Regions from separate parts of the Homo sapiens genome. Here regions 1 and 3 are each linked to region 2. Evidence: promoter capture Hi-C in 16 types of primary human blood cells and fetal thymus (Javierre and others, 2016). All regions are on one chromosome and are shown on one strand. Each heading gives the region's core, a stretch centred on a gene start or on the middle of the fragment in contact. The rest is flanking DNA. Distances are from core to core; before and after follow the strand shown. Region 1 overlaps PPP4R1 (protein phosphatase 4 regulatory subunit 1). Region 2 holds the start of TXNDC2 (thioredoxin domain containing 2). Region 3 overlaps PPP4R1 (protein phosphatase 4 regulatory subunit 1).

Evidence for each region. The method cuts DNA at HindIII sites, captures the fragments that hold promoters and counts their contacts. A CHiCAGO score of 5 or more calls a contact.
Region 1: a fragment that was not itself captured here is called in contact with the fragment with the promoter of TXNDC2 in region 2 in 1 of 17 cell types (neutrophils); the score reaches 7.3 in neutrophils.
Region 3: a contact is called between a fragment that was not itself captured here and the fragment with the promoter of TXNDC2 in region 2, in 1 of 17 cell types (erythroblasts). The highest score is 5.3, in erythroblasts.

Annotation. Positions count from the first base shown.
Region 1 is chr18:9,594,287-9,597,542 of GRCh38, reverse strand. It overlaps PPP4R1 (protein phosphatase 4 regulatory subunit 1), which reads left to right. Exons shown (of 20, transcript NM_001042388.3): 3 at 2,390-2,525. Among named protein-coding and RNA genes, the nearest start is that of PPP4R1, 19 kb to the left of the region's middle. The HindIII fragment of the contact is 4,261 bases long and covers 1-3,256 here.
Region 2 is chr18:9,884,241-9,887,542 of GRCh38, reverse strand. TXNDC2 (thioredoxin domain containing 2) reads right to left here and starts at 1,570. Exons shown (of 2, transcript NM_032243.6): 1 at 1,463-1,570; 2 at 1-954. The coding sequence starts at 862. The HindIII fragment of the contact is 12,861 bases long and covers 1-3,302 here.
Region 3 is chr18:9,574,187-9,577,533 of GRCh38, reverse strand. It overlaps PPP4R1 (protein phosphatase 4 regulatory subunit 1), which reads left to right. Exons shown (of 20, transcript NM_001042388.3): 10 at 343-470. Among named protein-coding and RNA genes, the nearest start is that of PPP4R1, 39 kb to the left of the region's middle. RefSeq lists enhancers at 2,283-2,793, 2,794-3,304. The HindIII fragment of the contact is 282 bases long and covers 1,806-2,087 here.

The sequences.
Region 1 (3,256 bases), core at 752-3,251, 290 kb after region 2:
TTCACTTGATCGTTTCAGGTAATTATTTTTCCCAGAATACCGACTAGTTTCCTCACACACATAAACTGTTTCAATACTCACCTAAAGACTCAAAGGGACTTTCTGCAGCTTTCTAAAGTTCTTTCTCTGTGAAGGTCCCTCCTCTCTGATACTCTCCCTCTGCCAATTCTAGCTGCCTTGGCCTCCCTGAATTCTCAACTCTGTCTCCTCAACTCCAGGAGTCTGCTGGGATTATATTTGGACCCTCCTAGTGCTCTGGAAATTATTTCCAGGAAGTTAGCTGGAGGAATATAGGGCTCATTTCATTTGTCCTCTCTTTCTCAGAGATCACTGTCCAGTACTGTCTTTTGTCCAGTGTCTGAAACCATGGCTTCGTATGTTTTATCTTTTTTTTAAGAGATGGGGGTCTCACTGTGTTTCTCAGGGGCTAGAGTGCAGTGGCTATTCACAAATGCAGTTATAGAAGAGTACACCCTCGACCTCCCGTGCTCAAACAGTCCTCCTGCTTCAGCCTCCTAAGTAGCTGGGACTACAGACACTATCAGCATGCCTGGCTCTGTCATTTTATTTATTTATTTACCATTTAAGGTGTGAGGGTTAAGTTGGTTCCTGTTAATCCATCCTTTGTCAAAAGTGGAAGATCATGTTTAAGTGTTCTTTAAGTACAGAAGTTATTTTTATTTTAACAAAAGGAACTGTTGTGTTCTCTTTTTGATAATGTTCTGTTGGGAGTAAAAATGTTATCTGTTTAAAGTAGTCAGTTCTGTAAGATGGGCCCATGGTATATACACATTTACTTTAAAAACAAGCATTTTAAAATGCCCTAACAGCAATAACAGTTCATCAGGAAATGATGAATCTTTTCTGTCTCTCATATAGCAACATTTGGGAGGAGTTTCTTAGGTGGTTTTCTTTTTCTCTCTTAAGAGCTAAAGGAGCAACGACAAAATCTCATTGTGAGTGATGAACAGATTTATTTGTTTCAAAAATACTTAAATGCTTACTTTGTGCCTGGAAATATCCTGGAGATGAAGCAGTGTATGGGATAAAAATTTCTGTCCTCATGGAGCCAATAACTTACTCTAGAGAGACAGACTATAAGTAAAACAACTAATACGTACCAGATGTTGACAGGCACTATTGAGAAAGTAAATCAAGTAATGCAGGGGATAGAATAGGAAGTGCCAGGAAATAATAATAAAAATTTCTTGGAAAGCTCTTAGGGCTTTGGGAAAGGCCCTGATTTACCTCTGGATCGCATCCTTTCCAACCCCATGGTGTTTCCATCAGTAATATTTTCTTATTGCTAAAACTTCAATTTATATTTATTTGTTGACTGTTTACTTTCATTATATAACCATGTGCAACTCTGTCTTCTTTTAAACATTAGGAACAGAACAAAATAAATAATCTTTATTTTGCTTGAATGCCCTGGCTAGTAATCTAATCCAGTTTACTATATCACAGCCACAGTTCTGGAAAGTATATTTTGTATTCATTGTCTTCACTTTATTATATTTTCCTTTACCTCTTCAGTCAGGTTTGGCTTCTCGGCTTTCATGCAATGGAAAATTGCCCTTGTCACACAGCATGGCACAAAAGTACCAAATTCAGTGGGCACCTTTCAGTTCTTCCTTGACTCCTTTGGTAGTAGATGCTGTTTAATCATACTTTCACTCATTGCTTGGTTCCTTTGAAATAATTACCTTTTGGTTAGTTTTTAGCCATTCTTTCTTGGTCTTCTCTTCCTTCTCCTGCAGCTTGAATGGGTGTCTGGCCTTTTAGTTTGTATTAATACATACTTTTATTACAATGATCATTTTAAAGTAGATTGTTTTCTGTAGAATATTAGCTCTTTGAAGTCAGAAACATTAGTATTTTCATTGTTGTTTCTCCAGCATCTACCCTAGTACTTGGCACAAATGTATTTAATAAATATTTGTTTAATGAATGTAAATATATTAATGTTTTTAGCTTTCTTCTATTAAGTGAAGTTAGATACCAGTTTCATTAGCTTTATCTTCCACATTGCAGGACTAACTATATTGGTGCTTGACTTTTTGTGTGCCTATTCACAAGTTGTTAGTGTCTTGATTGAACATGTTCTCAAGACTGGTCACTTTCCTGCATACTGAGTTTCTGTAGCCTCTGACCTTTGTGCTTTTAGAGCCAAGTAGAACTTTGTGCTTATAGAGCCAAGTAGAACATATCTGTAGGAAAAGGAGAGGAGGTATCTTTTAGTTATTTGTGGCTTCTGGATTGATTCTGAGAGTCTCTTGTGATTTTTTTTTTGTACCATTCCAGAAACAGATTTGTACTGCTTCAGACAGGCAAGGGGTACATTTTAGTTTCAAAGTGTTATAAGGAGTATTTCTGATGTCTCTGATAGTTGGTGTGGATGACTACAGCTCAGAGTCTGATGTGATTATTATACCTTCAGCCCTGGACTTTGTCTCACAAGATGAAATGTTGACGCCCCTGGGGAGATTGGACAAGTATGCTGCAAGTGAGAACATATTTAACAGGTATGTGCATATTCTTTTTGTTAAAGTGGAAGTGGAAGGGTGGTTTTATTAACTTCAGTAGGGAAAATGAAAGTATCCACTTTAAAGGAGGTATTATTAACAGGCACAATCTGAGTCACCAAGTTTTATTCATAATCACAGCATGAGCAGTTTTGTACTTGTTTATTCTTTGATCCTAGTAAGCATACAACATGCTTTCTTTGCAAAAAAAAAAATTACCATTAATTACCATTGCTTTTCTGCCACTGGACATAATTTTGGTATTCATATAAATTGCTTATTGGGAAGTACATTATTCCTTCAACACATGATGTTGTATACCTGCTGTATGACGGGTGATGCTCAAGATCATTGGGTCACACAGCAGTGACCAAGAGCCAGCACTCTTCCTACTGCATTGTGTTTGTCCAGCCATGATCCCAGACCACCTATATCACACTTTTCTGGGAAATCAAAAAGTCTTGGTTCAGATTTTTTGGGTATAGCTATGCAAAACTCATACTACTAAAAATATGTAAGGGTAACATTTTGTATAATGAATGAGTGTGTTTTTTCATTGTGATAATTGAAGGACAACTGAAATGAATTTTTGGTGACTTTTTACCAAATCAGTTAGATAAAGATTAAAAAAAAATGTTGTAAATATTCAGTCTCATCTTGTTAAAATAAAATCAATACTGCCGTTTGCCACTTAGGAAATTATAGACCTAATATATGTTTTAATAATGTAA
Region 2 (3,302 bases), core at 321-2,820:
TGGGCTGGATGGTTTCTTCTGGGGACTTGGGGATGTCACCCTCCTTAGGCTGGATGGCTTCCTCTAGGGACTTGGGGATGTCACCCTCCTTGGGCTGGATGGCTTCTTCTGGGGACTTGGGGATGTCACCCTCCTTGGGCTGGATGGCTTCCTCTAGGGACTTGGGGAGGTCACCCTCCTTGGGCTGGATGGCTTCTTCTGGGGACTTGGAGATGTCACCCTCCTTGGGCTGGCTGGGCTTCACTGAGGCCTTGGGAATATTGCCCAGCTTGGGCTGGATGGGCTTTGCTGAGGACTTGGGGATGTCACCCTCCTTGGGCTGGATGGTTTCTTCTGGGGACTTGGGGATATCACTCTCCTTGGGCTGGCTGGGCTTCACTGAGGTCTTGGCAATATTGCCCAGCTTGGGCTGGATGGGTTTTGCTGAGGACTTGGGGATGTCACCCTCTTTGGGCTGGATGGCTTCTTCTGAGGACTTGGGGAGGTCCTCCTTCTTGGATTGGATGGTTTCTTCTGGGGCCTTGGGGATGTCACCCTCCTTGGGCTGGCTGGGCTTCACTGAGGCCTTGGGAATATTGCCCAGCTTGGGCTGGATGGGTTTTGCTGAGGACTTGGGGATGTTACTCTCTTTGGGCTGGATGGCTTTTTCTGAGGACTTGGGGAGGTCCTCCTTCTTGGATTGGATGGTTTCTTCTGGGGCCTTGGGGATGTCACCCTCCTTGGGCTGGATGGTTTCTTCTGAGGACTTGGGGCTGTCATCCTGCTTGGGATGGCTGGTGTTTGCTGAGGACTTGGGTAGGTCATCGCCCTCCTGTGAGGCATCAGACTCCTCTGTGCGCATGTGGAACGTGTGGCTGACCATGGGGAGAAAGGCCTTCTCTTTGGCCTGGGCTATTTCCAAGAACTCTAGGGCCAGGAGAGGCACGTTGCTGGACAGGACTAGTAATGAGCTTTCTGTACCAAAAAACATAAAATAAAATAAAATAAAATAAATCAAATAGAAATGCAAAAGAAGAACCAAAGAAATTCTCTTCATATTCCAAGGAAGACTGATGTCACTCTTCGAGATCACGAATGAAGTCTGATGAATGATGTATTAATCTGAAAAACTCATTCAGCAGAAGGACAAACAGCGTGTGGTTACACGTATCTTCTGTATACATGTTCTTAAGCTACAACTTTCCCTTCTTGGTTCAACACCCTGCCCGCTCCCTAACTGCATAGGTCTTTAAGGCAACCCTCTTTCCTCCCCTACTTACCATTAGCATCACCTTCACTTGTTTCTTCCTGAGTGCCCAGCCTCATTTCTGGTTTTCCAGAGGCTCCAGCTTTAACACTTTCCATTCCTAGTTCCTTGTCTACATCCATTCCTGATCCTTCATAGATGCCTCATAGTAAAGGCCGTACCCTCCAACTTTTTCCAAGCTATCCATCCTAACATCAAAATATGAGTAAAACTTACATTTGGGTGGCACGTTACAGTTGGTTTTCCCTCTCTGTATTCACAACAGTGATATTTGAGAGCTTCAAGGTGGCTCCCCTGTGCTGAGGCTGGGACTACGCATTCACTGGCATCATTTCCTAGAACACAACAAACCACTGAGGTCAGAACCATTATGATGAGTAGTTTACACATGAGAAGCTATGTAGCTCACTTAAGGTCACAAAGCTAGGGTGGGGGCAGGCTCCAAAGCTCATGCTCTGCACTGTGAGGCTGTGCTGGACTGCTCGCCACAAGTCCCGTCCAGCCTGGGTTCTGTGAATCAACCATCTTATCATCTTTCTCCAGGATCCCCCAGCTCCAACATTCTCTTTACGACTCACCCATTGTGACCAGCTCCTAAGTATCTCCTCGAAACCATGTTAGCCTCCTCTGCAAAGTGTCCCACAATGTCAAATGTTCAGCTCCTGCTAGACAGCCTCTTTCCCCACCTCCCCCACCTCCCAGGCGCACCAGCCCAGCCTGTGCCCTCCCCCATGCAGACACATCCAAGTACACGGCTCTTCCAGCCTTTACATACAGGAGAACAACCTCTTTGTGAATAATCCTGGTTCCATAAGCCACATCTACCCCATCCTGTGGAATGGGAAGCCAAATACCTGTCCCCCAGGGAGACTTATTTTATTAGTTCAGGACCACTGGCTCATTTTCCACCCTCACTCTGCACAACACATCCAGTCCAAGGCAGGAAGAATCAGTGTGGAATTTTGCCTTCTCTACATGTACTTTGAACAAATCCTCATATGTTTCAGTTTCACCCCAACAATATAAGTGTTGAAAGTGGTCAGGCATGGTGGCTCACACCGTGATCTCAGTACTTTGGGAGGCCAAGGTGGGAGGATTTCTTGAGCCCAGGAGTTTGAGATCAGCCTAGGCAACATAGCAAGACCCCATCTCTACAAAAAATACAAAACCTAGCCAGGCACAGTGGCACACGCCTGTCCCAGCTACTTGGGAAGCTGAGGTGGGAGGCTTGCTTGAGCCAGTGAGTTCAAGACTGCAGTGAGCCGTGATCACTACATCGTACTCTAGCCTGGGCAACAGAGCAAGGCCCCGTCTCTAAAAACTAAAAATAAAAGTGTTGAAATCTAAATGATAAGACCTCCACATTGTCAATAGAAACCTCGAAACATCTAATGGCAATGGTTCAATTATCTGGATTTTTATACCAAAACACATTTTACTAAGGGGTAGAGAGACTATTGGCCTTAGCAAATCCATAGTTCCTTTTTTTTTTTTCTTTGAGACAGTCTTGCCCTGTCACCGAGGCTGGAGTGCAGTGGCACAATCTCGACTCACTGCAACCTCTATCTCCCAGGTTCAAGCAATTCTCTTGCCTCACCCTCTCGAGTAGCTGGGATTACAGGCATTCACCACCACACCCGGCTAATTTTTGTATTTTTTTTAGTCGAGACAGGGTTTCACCATGTTAGCAAGGCTGGTCTCTAACTCCTGACCTCAAACGATCCACCTGCCTCAGCCTCCCAAATTGCTGGGATTACAGGCGTGAGCCACCATGCCTGGCCCAGCAAATCCGTAGTTCTTGATGATATGAATCCTGTTCCAGGAAGAGCTCATGCTTCCACTCCGTTTCCTCGGTTACTGCCAAAGAAAGCTCTTCCCTCTCTCACTGGGAGACTTTGGGCCTTTCTTATGTGATATTTTAAAGGACGGGAGGTTGTCTTCACTCTCCAATGCCAACGGCTTCCACAGCTGACAGGACTGTTTTTCATGGTGCCCTATTTTAAAGCAGAGGATGAAAATAAACGTCAGGCACTTATCTGGGCAATGTCTTCTTTCT
Region 3 (3,347 bases), core at 697-3,196, 310 kb after region 2:
GCCACCACGCCCTGCTAACTTTGGTATTTTTTGTAGAGACTGGATTTCGCCATGTTGCCCAGGCTGGTCTCAAACTGCTGGACTCAAGCGATCTGCCCAGCTCAGCCTCCCAGAGTGCTGGGATTACAGGCATGAGCCACTGCGCCCAGCCAGAGAAAATAGCTTGTAAGAATTTTTCAGTCCTAGCTAAAGTTCTGAATCTGGGCTTCCTTTAGAAAAGCTTCATTATTATCCTAAACATACTTCGGCATTTGAAAGTAGATTATTAAATATACATAATGTGTGCGTATATAATTCTTTTTCAAAATGATTCCTTTATTATTGTCCTTTTTATCTTCCTAGGTTCGCCAAGCAGCTTTTCAGTCTCTGGGACCTTTCATATCTACTTTTGCTAATCCATCTAGCTCAGGCCAGTATTTTAAAGAAGAAAGCAAAAGTTCAGAAGAGATGTCAGTAGAAAACAAAAATAGGTATAATTTTGAAACCATTTTCTAATTTTAAAACCTTGTTTTCTAATTTTACTGCTTTTAAACATTATTTCCACTATTCTGCAACAAATGTTATTTTTTGATAGTTTGCTATTTCTCTTGAATATAAAAATTGGTGAATATTTTTATAGAGCTTTACTTTAAGCGCATTTGTTTGTTAAGTATCTCTTTGGTTGGTTACATATTGAATGAGTAGATGCATGTAACACAATTAGCTAGATGCCTCGCACATAGGAAACTCTAAATGGTAGATTATGACTTTTAAAAAATGTTTATTTAGTACATTATTTAGTCAATCATTCATTGATATCTACAATATACAGGGTAATTGTTACACACTGTGTAGTATTTGGGTTTTTTTAAATTTGTTTTTAAGGAGTAAAACTTAATTTAGGAATATGTTTTATTGTCCTTTTCTGTCAAATAATTTAGTTGCGCATCTTGGATTCTTTGTCAATGGTGATTGTAATCTGTCAGTTAAAGGAGAAAGCCAGTATATTAGCCAGTATATCAGTTTTAAGTATATCAGTCTCATAAGGAAACCAAAGTTTTAAATAAAGCTTAAAGAGTCGGCTGTGATTTTTATTTTTAAATGTTTTTGCATTGAAAATTTTCTATTAAATTTAAATTTTAAAAATTTATTATAATATATATTTAGGGGAAAAACTAATTCAAGCCTAACTTACTAGTATGCGGGAAATGTACACAAACTTTTACAGTTATGCACTTGAAGTAATTTTAGTACAAATATTTGAAACAGTCCCTGCTATAATGCTTGAGTTACCATAGTGTCTTTTCCCTCCCTTGTCATGATGCTAATGGACATTTTCTTCTGTAGGTCTTGATACTGTGCTATTTGCTTTCTTGGTGTTTTGATTTGGCAGTTCTTCTTTCTTCTCTGCTGCCTTGTTTTACCTTTTTGCCCGTTCTCCTACTGTCCTGCTGAATAGCCAAACAAACCTGAGGTACTGTTTTTTGTAAAGGAAGAAAATCACTCAAACCTGTCTTCCTAGCAAGCAAAGTCTGTCAGTTTTTTTGAAAACAGGTGCTGCCAGGACTTTGACAAAAGTGATGATGGTGGGTGGGGAATGTTATCTATTTTTCATTTTTGAAATCAGCATACTTAAAAAATTACCTGTTTATACTGAAGACTGTTACATAACTTCTGTTTTAAAATCTGAAATGGGTCTAGTAAGAAACTATAAATTTGCAGAGAACTGTATAGGACGAGCTGGTAAACTTTCTTCTGTTTCACAACTACTCACTCGGCCTTTGCAGTGTATAAGCAGCCGTAGACATTACATAAATGGACAAGCTTGGCTGTGTTCCAGTAAAACTTCACTGACCTCAACAGTGTGCCTATCAAGGCCATGTTTGCCGCCTACCGGTGTGTAGCATTACTGCAATAGCTATTTAAAGGTAGTTCAATTCCTTGATTCTTCTTCCATTGTAATGAGGTATGTCTTAATGTCCAGGCAATACTACTTGTATTGCTGATCTTCAGTAATATTAGAGCTTATTAAATTATGTTAATGATATGGTAGGGGAAAGAGAGCATTCCTGGCTAAGGAAGGAGTTATGTTAAATATTGTAAAAGCTTTTGCATAGTTTGACAAACTATAAAGAAGTAGTCCTATATATTATTAAATCTCAGAACCATTAGTTTGTTTGCCCTCCCTTAAATAGCACAGTGGCATTTGTTTTAAGCTGTCTTAAACTGTTGTGGTATTAAGATTGATTGATTGATTATGCAAAAGTTAACTGAGCACCTCCTATGAACCAGAAACTGTAAATGGAAAGATAGAACTTCGTTCCTGTCCTCAAAGTTCTCTCAGTTTCTTAGATTCAGGTTTTTCAAACAAATGTCTTACAAAGTAAGCAAGTTTTTGGCAACATATTTCCACCACTGTTTATTGTATAGTGTTTCATCTGACCCTAGAAACATTTACTATCACTTTATTACTCTTTGAAGCATTTATTGATTCCAAACATCTGACTTACACATCAGATCTTTCACTCACCCTGGATCAGGCTGTTAATGCTTCTTTGAAAGTGCTGATAAAGCCTACTTCTCAGAAGCAGAGTTGAAATACTCAAATCTGCATTTTAAAAGTATGTAAAATAAGCATTCGTTATCACATTGTTCTCTGAATGCACCATGTTCTCTTAATTCTCCCTGTTTTTGTACTTGCTGCTCTCTGGGAAGCTTCTTGTTCCATCCATACCCTCGTTTAACAAAGTGCTGTCTTAGATGCACTGAGTTGTCCAGGAAGTACAGAGCTTTTGTCTTCATCATCAGTAGCGCTGTAATGAGAGCACTATTTTAATCCTATCCTTTTGGCTACATATTGGCATCTATCATCCAGTAGCCTCCCGGCCATGCAGTGTGGCGTCCAGCTCCTCCCTTTGTCTCCGCTGGGCCTGGCCCGTTGGTGCACATATTAATCCTGAATGAATTATTCTAGGGAAATATGGATTTGACCTCAAAAATCTGAAGTAACTAAACCACTTTTGCTGGATTTTTCCAGTTTAGCTTAATGCTAACTATATGAAAAAAAATTATTAGCACAAATTTGGAAATATTTCATGAATGCTAAAACTTCATTGAGTTAATTCACAGTACTTGGAAGGTATCCTGGAGCGTGTTTGCTTTTATCTCAGGATACAATACCTCTTTAGCCAGATGTTCTACAAGTCATTTTCTCCTTGAAATACCTGTAATTAATTTTCTAGGCCCATAGTCTCTACTAAGGAACTCTGAAGATATTAATTATAAACTTATGTAGGCACAAAAAGACACTTAAGATTCCTCCTTAAGTAGGTAGTTTCTGGACTGTCCTCTGGTGCTCTTGATACCTA